3 separate regions of the Homo sapiens genome follow, and regions 1 and 3 are each linked to region 2. The links are contacts of gene promoters, found by promoter capture Hi-C in blood cells and fetal thymus (Javierre and others, 2016). All regions are on one chromosome and are shown on one strand. The core of a region is centred on a gene start or on the middle of the fragment in contact, and the rest is flanking DNA. Distances in the headings are between cores, read along the strand shown.

Region 1 (4,373 bases), core at 530-3,029, 550 kb after region 2:
ATTAATATTTAAGCACCCTAAATTTGTACATCCATATCTTGTGAGCCTATTTCATATAATACAGTGTTTAAAGTGGCATATTAAATGCTTATAGGTTTATTAATCTGAAAAATCAAGAGAATTGAATTAGCCTTTCTCTGAATGTGAAATTTCTCTGAATGTGAAATTTTCAGAGCTGCAATTCTGAAAATCCATTCCTTTGTATTTCAAAAGACATTTAATATTCAGTAAAATATGAAAATGATAATTTCAAATTGGTACCTAAACCTATTACATTAATAAATATAGTTTTGAGAAGAAACATTAGCAGAATTGCATATTGATAATGTAACTCCTTATTTGACTTATGATTTTCCTTGTTACTTTAATAACAGTCATGCCTTATTTTGGGGCCACCATGTAGCCAGACTTTGAGTTCAGTCAGTTTTTGTGGCCTCCTCAATGTCATGCAGAAGTAAAAGCTGTGCTGATATTTGCAGTGATAGCACAGCATGTCTTTATTAACATCATCAATAAAAACAATAATTCCCTCAGTACTTACTGTGTGTCAGCTTCTACCCTAAACTCTCATAAATCACTTCATCAAATTTTCAAAACAACTATATGAGGTAGATATTGTCTGACTGTGCAAATAAAAAAACGAAAACATAGGAATGTGAGAAAACTTGCAAAACATCACAGTTAATGCCAGCACCCTAGAGTTGGGTTCTTTCAGTTTACCCAGCCATATTTCATAACATCAACTCCTTAGACTTCTAGGTCATGGGAAAATGCACTGGCTGTAGCTTGTAGAAAGTAACACAGTTTAAAAATGACTTATTGGCCATTTCTGACCTTTGCCCAAGCTTGCTTTTATCAGAAATTTCTTATTTTCTTTCCCTATCTAATGAATACTTTCTTCACATTAGAAAAATAAATCTAAAATGATGTGACCTGAGGTGGCTTCCTGGCAAGGCCTTCCAAACTGCGCTCCAGTGTTCTCTAAAATCTCCATGGAAGTGATTCAGTAGCCACTGGGATTAAGGGGCAAGAAGAGGAAAGTCAGGGAATCGGGTTACTCCTGTCCAGTACCCTTAAATAGCTTCACTTCTCTCTGTTTCAAATAGTAAAACTATCTATCTATCTATCTATCATCTACCTATCTGTCATTTGGGGAGAAAATAGCTATTTTTTTAAAAAGTTTCAAAGCCACTTCTCTTATTGACCTCTGCTTTTAACAGAGAAAGCTGAGGCCTATGGAATTTAGGCAATTGGCCCCAAATCTCACAGTTTGTTGGACGTCTCCTAACTTCATATCCAACCAATTTTGTCACCCCATACTGTTGGTCTAAAGGAGTATAGTGTAAGTGTGTTGTATGTGGCCCACTAGACCCTAGGCTGTCACTCTGCAGGCCTTCTCTGGGGTGACTGCTGATTCACCTAACCTCCATCTCTGCTGGAACAGTAGAGGCCCCTGGAGCTTGCTCTTAGGCTCAGCTTCTGCTTGCATGGGCCTGACATATGTTCTTTGTTCATTTTCTTTCTTGTCCACCTTCACTGATCTTTTTGACTTTCAACAAATTAGAAAAAAATAGATACCCACCCAGAGAACTAAGTTCTCCACGGGACAGGTTATATATGATTCAGCACCAACATATTTCTTTTTTTGAAAAATTTACTTGATAATTGACAGCAAACTTCTTAATCAGGAAAGGCTCCCATGGCTGGGTTTGAAATCATCTCTTTCTCAGTGATTTGAAAGTTTCAATAAAGAAAGAGTTTTGCTACATTTGACTGTGACACCAGTAAAGGAGGTAGACATTACAGACTCTGAGGAAAAGGGGAGGTGATAGGCAGCTGAAAGAAGAAGGAAGTGCAGCTGGCCGAATCCTTTGTCCTGGGAAATGCAGCACATAACACATTCTGCTACATCATCATAAGGGGTATTTGATATTTATAAGATTTTTATAGTTTGGAGACGAGCATGCTTTCAGAGTTTGAACTGTGTATTCTTTAAATTTATGGTATTCACTAACACAAGTTTAGATTTCAATTGAGGGAAAAATCATTCTGAGAAAAGAAAGATTTACAGAGAATGATGGCTTATAGTTTATTTCAGGGAATTTCCCAAAGATATTTATGTTACTACTTGATTGATAACAATATTTTCCTCTCCAACAATATTTTCAAATTAGAAATAGTAGTTTTCAGGATTGCAGTTATTAAGCTGAACATTGCGTGTGTGTGAGAGGGAGAAGTTCTTGAGTTTTAATCCTTTCTTGATTTCACTGTTACAAATTACTTTATGATTGATACTCACAGATTAAAAGATCAACTAGTCCAAAGAGTAATTTATTCTATAAATGAGATCAGATGGTGTATCTTGAGTAGCCAATTATTCTCAAGAGCCGTTGTCTCAATATTATGAACTGAATGTTTTTGTCCTCAAAAAATTCATATGCAAAAATCTTAACCCCCAATGTGATTATATTAGAGAGTGGGGTCTTTGGGAAGTCTAAAACAAAACTGAAATTCTAAGTCCCCCAACCATCGGAATGGATCCTCCCTCTTGGCAAGGGCATTCCAAAACTAACCTAAAATACTAGTTCAAGCCATGATGGAAAGGAGAGTTGAACATGCCTCAGTATATTCCCCTCCCTTTTGGAATTACTAATAGAACAGAATCCTTGAGTCTCATAAGAAATAGTTACAATCTATTTTCTCTGAAGCTTGCTACCTGGAAGCTTCACCTGCATAATAAAACCATAGTCTCCACAAACCCTTATTGTAACCCAGACATTCCTTTCTATTGATAGTAACTCTTTCAATCAATTGTCAATCAGAGGATTTTTTAATCTGCCTATGACTTGGAAGCCCCCACTTCCAGTTGTTCTGCCTTGTCAGACTAAACCAATGTCCCTCTTACATGGATTGACTGATGTCTCGTGTCTTCCCAAAATATATAAAACCAAGCTGTACCCCAACCACCGTGAGCACATGTTCTCAGGATCTCCTGAGAGCTGTGTCATGGGCCATTGGTCACTCACATTTGGCTCAGAATAAATCTCTTCAAGTATTTCACACAGTTTGACTCTTTTCCTTGACAATAATTTGGCACCAAACATATGGGGTCTTAGGCAAGACTCAGGTCTCCAAATTTGTAACTAAGGTACCAGCAGGGACCCACTGAAAGCCCTCCCTGACTTTGAGCTTCTCCTCTGGTGGAACTGGTAAGTTCTCCTGAGCCCTGGCCCCCCCGTTGGTTGAGAGTCCTTCATTTATTCTGAGCTATTGTTTTCTTTTTTTGCTCCTAGGAAGTAGTTGTTTGGGATCCTAATTCTAGTTCAGAGGTGCATTCTAAAGGTTCTTCTCCATTGCTTTTTCTCACAGGGAACCCCCAACAAAATTAGTTATAAAGGCTTGTTCAGGAAACACATTTAAGAGCTGATCACTTAATGTTTTGAGCCCTCTCTGAGGTTCTAGATGTCCTAAGAGAGAAACTGAGACACATAAGACAGGTGAAACACTCAGTGGTGACACACTATGAAGTCCCACCTACAATCAGCACACTTGTACCTCTATAATAAACCCTAGGCCATAGCTCAGTACCTCCAAAAAAGAAAGAAAGAAAGAAAGAAAGAAAGAAAGAAAGAAAGAAAGAAAGAAAGAAAGAGAAAAAAGAAAAGGAGAAACGTAAAGAAATGGGGAACAAATATACCTTTCAGGTATCCCATTGGTTTTATGGCACCTCTACTTACAAGTGTTTGTATAAAAGGGACATATAATGGTATTTTGTGCATATTTTAAACTGATGGACAAATTGCTGCAAGAAAAAATTCAGAGCCCAAATGTTGACCTGCAACTTTAGAGTTTCTCGTTTCTCTGTTTTCTTTTATGTCTGCTTTAAATCTGCTGTTACTTTTCTACTGAGAAAAAAAAAAACCACTATTGAGATCCAACTGTTTTATGTTTGTTCATTTTTGCAAACCAGTGAGTTTGTATTAATATCTCAGGGCTAGAGTTCTAAAGTAAGAGCTATAGGATCTTTGTTAATACGAGTGTGCATGTATGTGTTTATATGTATGTACAGGTATTTTGTTATGTGTTTTGCCCACAAGGCACTGAATTATCTTAAAGTTAGAGTACTCACAAATTAAATAATAAGTTCAAATGTTTTTCAGCTTCATGAGACTTAAGTAAAATCTTTAATAAATAGTCTGGCTTCAAAATTATTGGTAAATTAATATTAGAAGTGTCTTAAGAATTGTTAGCATTTTTGGTTCCATTTTTTGATCAAGAAGGTTCATATTTACCCCTGCAGAATACTATAAGGTGTCAAAAGTTGCCATGAGGGTTATGAAACAATAAACTGAGCCCAGAACAGAAAGATCTTT
Region 2 (4,380 bases), core at 970-3,469:
AGGGGTAAGGGCTGTCTCGGTGGAGAAAGAAACCCAGGCTTCCGGGAACATAAACTGGGGGATGTAGGGGCAAAGCACCTGCTAAATCTCGTTAGGGTTGGGACTTCAAAGAGGGTTGGGCCTGCTCTGAGAAACAGTGTGGGAATCCCAGCCCCGACCTAAAGGCGACACGTTCACTGCCAAGGACTCAGAGGGAAAGCAGGGAGCGGGGAATGGACGCGGGAGGTGGATGCGAGAAAAAGGCCGAGTAGGGCCCCAGCCCCGGTCACTCACCACGAGCGGGATGGAGCAGATGAGCACCACCAGGGAGGTGGCAATGAGTAAGATGACCATCTGGATCTCGGCGCCCGCGATGCGGCGGAAGCTCCGGCGGCGCCGAAAGTCGCTGAGGCGCGGCAAGGCTGGGGAGGCAGCGGGGTGGCCCCGGGAGGCAACCGAGGCGGCCGCGGCCGCGTGGTGCTGCTCGGTGCCCAGCGAGGTGCGGCGCATGAACTGGCGGTGCATGCGGAGCAGCGCGCCGCACACAAGCACGTTGCAGAGGACGGTGGCGAGAATGAGGAAGGAGCTGAAGCCCGCGTACATGTAGGAGTAGGCGGCGTGCGCCGTCACGTTGGTGGTCCAGTCGATGAAGCACCAGGTGTCTGGGTACTGCAGCCGCGAGCTACCGAGACCCATGTTGGGCAGCGCGCAAAAGAGCACGTTGGACGCATAGACTGCAAAGAGCGTGAGGCCCGCCAATCGCTTGTCCACGTAGTGGCTGTAGAAATAGGCATGGTTGATGGCCAGGTAGCGCTCGACACTCATGGCGCAGATGATGCTGAGGCCGGACAGGCTGAAGAAGAGCAGAATGAAGGTGCTGTACTCGCACAGCGGCTGGCCCCCGGGCCATTGGCCCTTCATGTACGTGGCGATGGTCACCGGGCTCACCAACAAAGTGCCCAACAGGTCGGTGACAGCCAGCCCACATACCAGCGTGTAGAAGGTCGTCTCCTTCTGCTCCTTGCGCGACTTGCACAGCACCACGATGGCCACCAGGTTGCCCACCACCCCGAAGATGAACATCACCGCCGGGATGGTCACTGGGCTGTTCAGCCGGTCGGGGCTCAAGGAGGCGGACGAATTGACCCCGGGAGTGGACATGATAGTGGCTGGCGGTGCGCAGCCTTGGAGTGCAAGGCTGGGTCTGGGGATGGTAGAAGAGAGACAAAGCTGCCGTGAGCGGAAATTACCACTTGTAAGGTGTTAGACCCGCGCCCGAGAAACGATACACTGATAAGACAAGGGGAGCAACTCGATCCTACTTTCTGGATTGTAGCCACTTACCAACTGCGGCCACCAAAATCTCCAGGCTCGCGATACGTCCTGCCAACAGCACACTCTTGCTGACATTAATATTTATAAACTGATTTTCCCATTCCTCTTCCTCCCCACAATCCAACTCACTCCATTGCCAAGATGAATAAGACCCATCTCAAGGGAAAAGTAGCTCGCTAGTGCTATTCTCGATAGATTCTGAATCAATAAAATGCTCACTGAAAACAAGTTACAAAAGCAATTTGGAGAGCGCGCTCTTCCCTTCTTGGCTCTCTTCGGCGAGGGCCGCATCCCTGCGTTCTCTACCCGTTGACCCCAACGTCAGCCCAACGCCATCTCACCTGTAGCGGCAGCAGCGGTGGCAGCCTCACGAGCCCCCAGGGTCAGCCCTCAGATGTCCTGGACCCGCCTCCAACCTGCTTTCACCTTGTCCTGCTCAGTCTGGAAACTGCCAAATCTTCGGCTTCTCAAAGCCGGTCTCAGTGGCTGTCGATTTTTGGACACCGAGGTCAGAGTTGCCAGCTTTCAAAAACTTGGGAAACAAGAGGTGCAGCGGGATGGGTCAGTGAAGAATGGTGCTGGATTTCTTACTCGCTATTTTTTTTCCTTCAAAGACGAGTCCCAGCTTTGCAGTGCCCGCCGGTCTCGTCTGCGGGAGGACAGCGTTCAGGTGTGAGGCTGTGCGCGCAGGTGGCGCGGAGCCTTGGTCCCCAGCTCTGGCTGCCCTCCGCCCCAGCCACGGGCAGCACGGGCGGCTACTGGAGTTTGCGGCTGCCGCTGAGGCCGCTCCTGGCTACCTGGGGGCGGCTCGGGGTCCACTCTGCCAGAGGCTCTGGCCTGGGGCTGTTCATCTTCCTCTCGGGCTGCCGGGCTTGGAGCTCCGCTCTCGCCTTTCCACCCTCTGTACAAACTTTTCTCCTCCTCCAAGTTTCCCTGGCGGAGGCGGAGGCAAACCGCGCGCTGCCCGGGCGCCCATTGGCCGGATTGGAAGGGGGCGGAGCGCGTCCTCCCTGGGCGCCGCAGGGAAGACTGGCGGGGGGCGGTGTCTGGGCTGGGGCGGGGCTGGGCGCGCGGGGTGGGGCGGCTCCCGTGGTTTTCACGCCCTCGGAGGTGCGGAGTGGGAACTCGGAGGGGACCCTGGGAAGCCCCGGTGCTTTCCCCGGCGACCGCTTAGCCGCTCCTGAACTCGGCTTCCAGTGGGGCCACCACTGAAACCGGCGACCGTTTCCGCCTCGCTGCCTGCCGCTCGGAGTGTACTATTTCTTGAACCTCCTGTCCGCGGGCCGCAACATCTAGATCGTGGAAGAGAGGGCAGTTGTTTTAGGATTCTACCTAGGGTTGGCCGAGAAAGGAGAAGAAATACGGTGTCTGCGCTAGCGCGTGCGCCCCGGGGTTAGACTTGGGTGCGCCCAGCGGACGTGGTAGGTGGGTGGGTGGGTGGGTACCAGATTGGGCGGGGAAATAACGAAGAATCCATCCTCTCACCATAAAAGGAGTTGGAGTCAGTTGGCAGTGCCCAGACTGCGGGCTGCGCTTGGTCGGGCACCCCAGGCAAAAAAGAAAAAAAAAAAAGAGAAAGAAAGAGGAGGAGACAGTGATTGCAGCCTCTCCCGGCGCAGGTGGCAGAGCCTTGCGGCTTTGGAGAGAGGTGGAGCCTTGGTGAGGTTGGGAGGACTGCCTAACTGCGATCTTTTTCTCCATTCTTCCTCCTGGGAACTTCTCCGCCCTGAAAGGGTAGCGTGAGCTTCATGCCTTCGGCCGGCCGTGTTATACTCGTTAGACCCAATTCACCATGAATCCTTTGAAAGACTAGTGGAGAGTGAGAAGGGGGTTTCAAAGTCACTGGAGTAAAGGAATTCTCCAAGCACCACCTCATGATTAATTCTTGGAAAAGCCTGTTTGCGCGGCCCTTAGAATCATTTTGACTTCTTGTCTAATGGTGAAGTTTTTCTCTGTAATCCTTCTACTCTGTTTTCTAAAACCAGAACTAAAAACCTAAAAAATTGTAAAACTTCATGGTGTAATTAAAACCCCTTCACCATTTTTTTTAAGTAAGATTGTGTGGCCTTATTGCACAATTTAAATTCCTGGAAAAACCTCTTCCCATCTGCAGTGTACAAGCATTCTAACATATTATGTCTCCTCACAGGGTAAGTAAATAACTGGATTCTTTTATGTGATAAGCAGGTACCCATTTCTTAAATGTTATTTCGTGAACGAACAAACCTCCTAACTGGTTCTTCAGTTAGTCTCAGCAACACATGGGTAATAAGAGAAACTAAAAGGGCTTTCCGATTTCAAGTAATTACAGGTCATAAAATATCCAGAATCATATTTACTTGCAAAAGGCACTATATGGATATACTAATAAAGAATTATTCTGTTTATACTATTTACTTAATAATATGAGAAAGAAAAATACACATTTGTTAGCCAATATTAAGATTGATGGTGATTGGTCATTTTCTTAAAAATCTTCTTTTAATCAGTACTCTAATCACTTCTGTTGTCGATGCTTCCTTTGAACAGTAACCTCTAGGATTGTGTCAGCACAGAAAACAAATCAACATTAGAAAAAAGGAAACTGCACACTCTGCGCCATTCCTCACTAACCACATTGCTTTGCTATCACTCATGTCAGTTGCTTGTCAGTAAATATATGGAGGGGAGGTTGGGAAGTCCCTTATATTCACTTTCTGCTAATACAAATTTTTTTTTTCAATTTTCTTTCCATATGAAGCTTGTAAAAGAGAAAACAATTGGTTGCTATTTATTAATTTAAGAATGATGAAGAATATATTAAATATAAAAACTGAGACACACTGCTGAGATAATTAGTAACTGTTACAGGTATTAGCATGTCATTGACAAACCAGACTTGTTATCAATTGAGCTATTTTTCTTACTAGTCCTTTGAATTTTCTTTCTACAGTAGCTTTAGGAAGAAGGAAAATAAATAACCTAATGCTCAATACTAAAAAATTGTAATGAGGTTTATCTGTAGTCTCTTTTGTTGTACGATTCTTAAAACTTAAATTTAGCTTTCAAAAGTAGAAGTTGAAAGTT
Region 3 (4,233 bases), core at 238-2,737, 610 kb after region 2:
GCTGTGAGCCTGTGAGATCAAACATTACATGTTTCCAAAACACAATGTTGAGACAGGCATAGGGTAAACATTCCCATTCCAAAAGGGAAAGATAGAACAAAAGAAGAAAAGAGTAATAGATCCCAAGTTAGTTGAATACTCAACAGGGCTAACAGCATTAAATCTTAAAGCTTGAAAATAATCTTCTTTCACTCCATGTCCCACCTTCTGGATATGCTAGAATGACAGTTGGGCCCCCAAGGCCTCAAGCAGCCCCATCCCATGGCTTTGCTGGGTGCAACCCTGGCTTCAACTGTCATGCATTGAAGGCATATGCCTATGGTGATCTTAGCCTGACACTACGTGCTGGTGGCTTTACAGTTAAAGATGTCTTTCTCAAGGATGGCCCTGCCCCCACATAGCCACTCAGCATTGCCCTAGTGAGAATTCTCTGCCATAGCACCACCCATGGGGCAGGTACCTGCCTGGGATTTAAGGCTGTCTGAGACATCTTTGAAATATAGGTAGAGGCAGCCATGCCTCCACAGCTCCGAACTCTACACACCTACAGAATTAGCACCACATGATCATTGCCAAAGCTCATTGTTTACACCTTCTGGAGTGGTGGTCCAGGCTGCACCTGGGCCAGCTTGAGCCATATCTAGGGTGCCCAAAGAGTGCTATGCCAGGATGCAGGGAACAGAGATCTAAGGAGGCCTTGGGAAGCTAGGTCCCACAGACACTGGACCCATCCCCTGAATCCTTTCTGACCCTAAGACCCTAGCATTCTGGGCTTGTGATAGGAATGGAAGCCTTGAAGATCTCAAAAACCCCTTTGAGGTCATGCTTCCATTGTCTTGATGAATAGCATCTGGATTCCTTCTAGCCGTACTAATCTTATCAAATGTTTGCTTAGCCATGCCCTTGATTTTCTCTCCTAAAATTGCCTTTTTATTCTTTACATGCCCAGGCTGAGAATTTTCCAAATCTGTACATTCTCCTTTCCCTTTAAGTATATATCCTGTCTTTAAATCATTTCTCTCTTTTTGCATTTTACTATAACCTGTTAAGAGAAGCCATGCAGCATCCTGAACACTTTTCTGCTTAGCGATTTCTTCTGTGAAATATTCTAGTTCATCGTTCTTAAGCTCTGTCTTCTGAAAAGTCCTAGAACATAGACACAATTCAGCCAAGTTCCTTTCCACTTTATAACAAAGATGACCTTTCCTCCAGTCTCCAGTACATTGTTCCTAATTTCCATCTGAGACCTCATCAGAATAATCTCCACTGCCACAACCAGTGAAGAAATCTCTCAAAAGACTGAGCTTTGCCCCACAGCTCTTCTTCTGAGCCTTGACTAGAATCATCCTTAATCTGTTTATGGCCATATAGGCTTTTTACATCATTCACTTCACAACTGTTTCAGCCTCTACCAATTATCCAGTCCCAAAGCCACTTCCACATTTTCAGGTGCTTGTTAGAGCAACACCTAGCTCCTTAGTACTAATTTCCATCTTAGTTCATTTGTGCTGCTATAACAGAGTACCACAAACTGGGCAATTTTTTAAAATAGGAAATTCATTTCTCACAGTTTTGGAGGCTGGAAAGAACAAAATCAATGTGTTGGCATCTGGTAAGGACTGTTTTGCCTTGTTCTCACGTGCAGAAGGCAGAAAGGTGAGAGAGAATCAAGTCCCTCCATGAAGCCCCTTAAAGGACACCTAATCCCATGTACAAGGGTAGATCCCTCCTGGCTTCATGCATTGACTTTGCCCTCTGGTTTGTTATCCTCCATTCATTCTTGTAGCTATCTAGTAACCTAGCCAATTGTTTTAGGGTATAGATGTAGCAGCAGAATCTGCTGCCATCTAAATGCTTTTTTGTGAATGAATACTTCAAGATTTAAAAGATTTTAAAAACATAACAAATTTTTAAAATGTCATGCCTTATAGGTCCCACCTCTTAATATTATCATGTTGGCAACACCCGAATTTTGGAGGGGACACATTCAAACCACAGTACCTACATATCAGGTAAGCACTGGGCTTATATCAGTGACTGTGATAGTTTTTTATTTTCATATAACTTGCATTTTTTTGGGGGGGAGCACTGATGGATAATAAATAGATAAAAATAAATAATCAAGTGACAAAATCATCAGGTAGTGATGTGTGCAATGAAAATAATTAAATAGGCAATATGATAATCAGTGTCAAGACATCTACATTGGTTGGATGGTTGAGAGAACCTTGCTGTTGAAGGTGACAGTGACCCGAGATCTGACTAACAAGCAGCAGCCAGCTGGGAAAAAAAACTGGGGACAGGCATCTCTACCATCAGAGAGTATGGCTAGAGCAAAGGCTCTTGTGGAGCAATAAACTTGGTGGTTTGGAGGAAACAAAGAAGGCCAAGGTGGCTGGAAAAGAGAGAGTAAAGTAAGGAGTATAAGAGAGGAGGCCAAAGAAAGAAAAATGGGCCATATTATGTGGTGCTCTGTGAGCTAGGATAAGGAAGTTTCATATTCCTATAGAATGGGAAACTATTGGAAGGATTTAAGCAGATGATACACAAATAAGTACTATGTTTTGTTTACAATATCAACGTATGCTATTTTGTATGGTGATTAAAAATACAAGTTTGTTAAGGAGTATAGCACTAAGATCTTGCTTGGGAGTAGAGGGTTGTTGTCTGTTTACATAAGGTCTAGTTGAGCAGGGGATTTAAAATTAAAGCCAGATTCCTCTTTTTCCTAGTTGGTTGTAGAGACAGCTTCCTTTGTTTTACCAACAGTTGGGTGCCTGATACTGACACACCACAGAAGCTTGATGCGGATTTTTCTCCTGGCTTCAGGAGAGATAGCTCCACTGTCACATCATGCATGAAAGTCCAGACTCTGCTGTGCACAGGAAGGGTTCTGCAATAAAGCTGTGGATATAACTCTGGCTTGTTATCCTCCATTCATTTTTGTGGATATATAGCAACCTAGCCAGTCATTTCAGGGGATAGACATAGCAGCAGCATCTGCTACCATCCAAAGCCTGAATCTTTTGTGAATGACTACTTCGTGATTGAAAAATTTTTTAAAAAGATTCAGTGGCACTTTGAACTACTATTGGGCTGATAATGTTTTTGTTGTTTTTGTTTGTTTGTTTGTTTGTTTGTTTGTTGAGATGGAGTCTCGCTCTGTTTCCCAGGCTGGAGTGCAGTTGTCGCCTAGGCTGAAGTGCAGTGGCAGGATATCAGCTCACTGCAAGCTCCACCTCCAGGGTTCAAACCATTCTCCTGCCTCAGCCTCCCAGTAGCTGGGACTACAGGCGCCCGCCACCACCCCCGGCTAATTTTTTGTATTTTTAGTAGAGACAGGGTTTCGCCATGAGCTGATAATTTCTTAAACCTCAACAAAATATTATCTTCGGAATTTTTATAATTCATACTATTTAGCTTTTGCTATGTGTTTTGTTATCAACCAAAGAATTATATGGGCTTATACATTCATGTGTTTGACTTATAAGTACTCTTCACTATTAGCTTTAAAAAATGTGCAGTGCCCATAGTCCCTGGGACTAGTGAAAAACATAATAAGGTAAAGAGAAGAGAGTGTTAGTAATAACTTATGATCCTGTGTACTATACACAAGGGCCTTTTGTGTAGGAATTTGCCTACAAGGTCACCAGCACTGTGTTATAGCACTTTCTTTTCTGGGCACTGAAGAGAGCTGAGTATCCTAGATGTTCTCAATGGTGATTAACACCAGGTAAGAGTAGAGAGGGCTCTTATTCTGAATTCTCTGTAGATCTCCTATCTTTTTTCACAGATGAAAAATAATGAGTTGTACAAGATACTGTTCTGTTTCTTTGCATGAGACATACTCTCGTTTGCTTTCCATATCTCTGAGGGCTCATTGCAAGGAAGATGCCCCAAAACTTTTTGGTGACTATTTGTCATACCACTATTGTGAAGAATTTTCCTCGTTTAAATTCTCCCCTAAATTTGGAGCTCAGCCAGCAGGAAATGGACTACTTTAGGGTTTCTAAATGTGATTAGAGGTCTGGAACCCAGAGGCAGAGAAAATTATGTAGGAGTCTGTACTTCCCTTGGACGTGCATAGATCTTTTAATTTTTTAAAAAATGATTTAGTATTTTTAAGGCTTGATATTTTATTAAAATTATACAATATTTTATTAAAAATCACATAAAATTTATTTTATAAAAATGAATGTAAACTATTAAAGCAAATTGCTATGTAGCTATATG

Evidence for each region. The method cuts DNA at HindIII sites, captures the fragments that hold promoters and counts their contacts. A CHiCAGO score of 5 or more calls a contact.
Region 1: a fragment that was not itself captured here is called in contact with the fragment with the promoter of PTGER4 in region 2 in 1 of 17 cell types (total B cells); the score reaches 5.5 in total B cells.
Region 3: a fragment that was not itself captured here is called in contact with the fragment with the promoter of PTGER4 in region 2 in 3 of 17 cell types (total CD8 T cells, naive B cells and total B cells); the score reaches 7.1 in total CD8 T cells.

What each region holds. Positions count from the first base shown.
Region 1 is chr5:40,131,674-40,136,046 of GRCh38, reverse strand. No RefSeq gene overlaps it. Among named protein-coding and RNA genes, the nearest start is that of LINC00603, 82 kb to the right of the region's middle. The HindIII fragment of the contact is 1,863 bases long and covers 848-2,710 here.
Region 2 is chr5:40,677,754-40,682,133 of GRCh38, reverse strand. PTGER4 (prostaglandin E receptor 4) reads right to left here and starts at 2,219. Exons shown (of 3, transcript NM_000958.3): 1 at 1,656-2,219; 2 at 274-1,183. The coding sequence starts at 1,140. RefSeq lists an enhancer at 674-1,201 and a silencer at 2,337-2,556. The HindIII fragment of the contact is 6,362 bases long and covers 1-4,056 here.
Region 3 is chr5:40,067,830-40,072,062 of GRCh38, reverse strand. No RefSeq gene overlaps it. Among named protein-coding and RNA genes, the nearest start is that of LINC00603, 18 kb to the right of the region's middle. The HindIII fragment of the contact is 2,630 bases long and covers 173-2,802 here.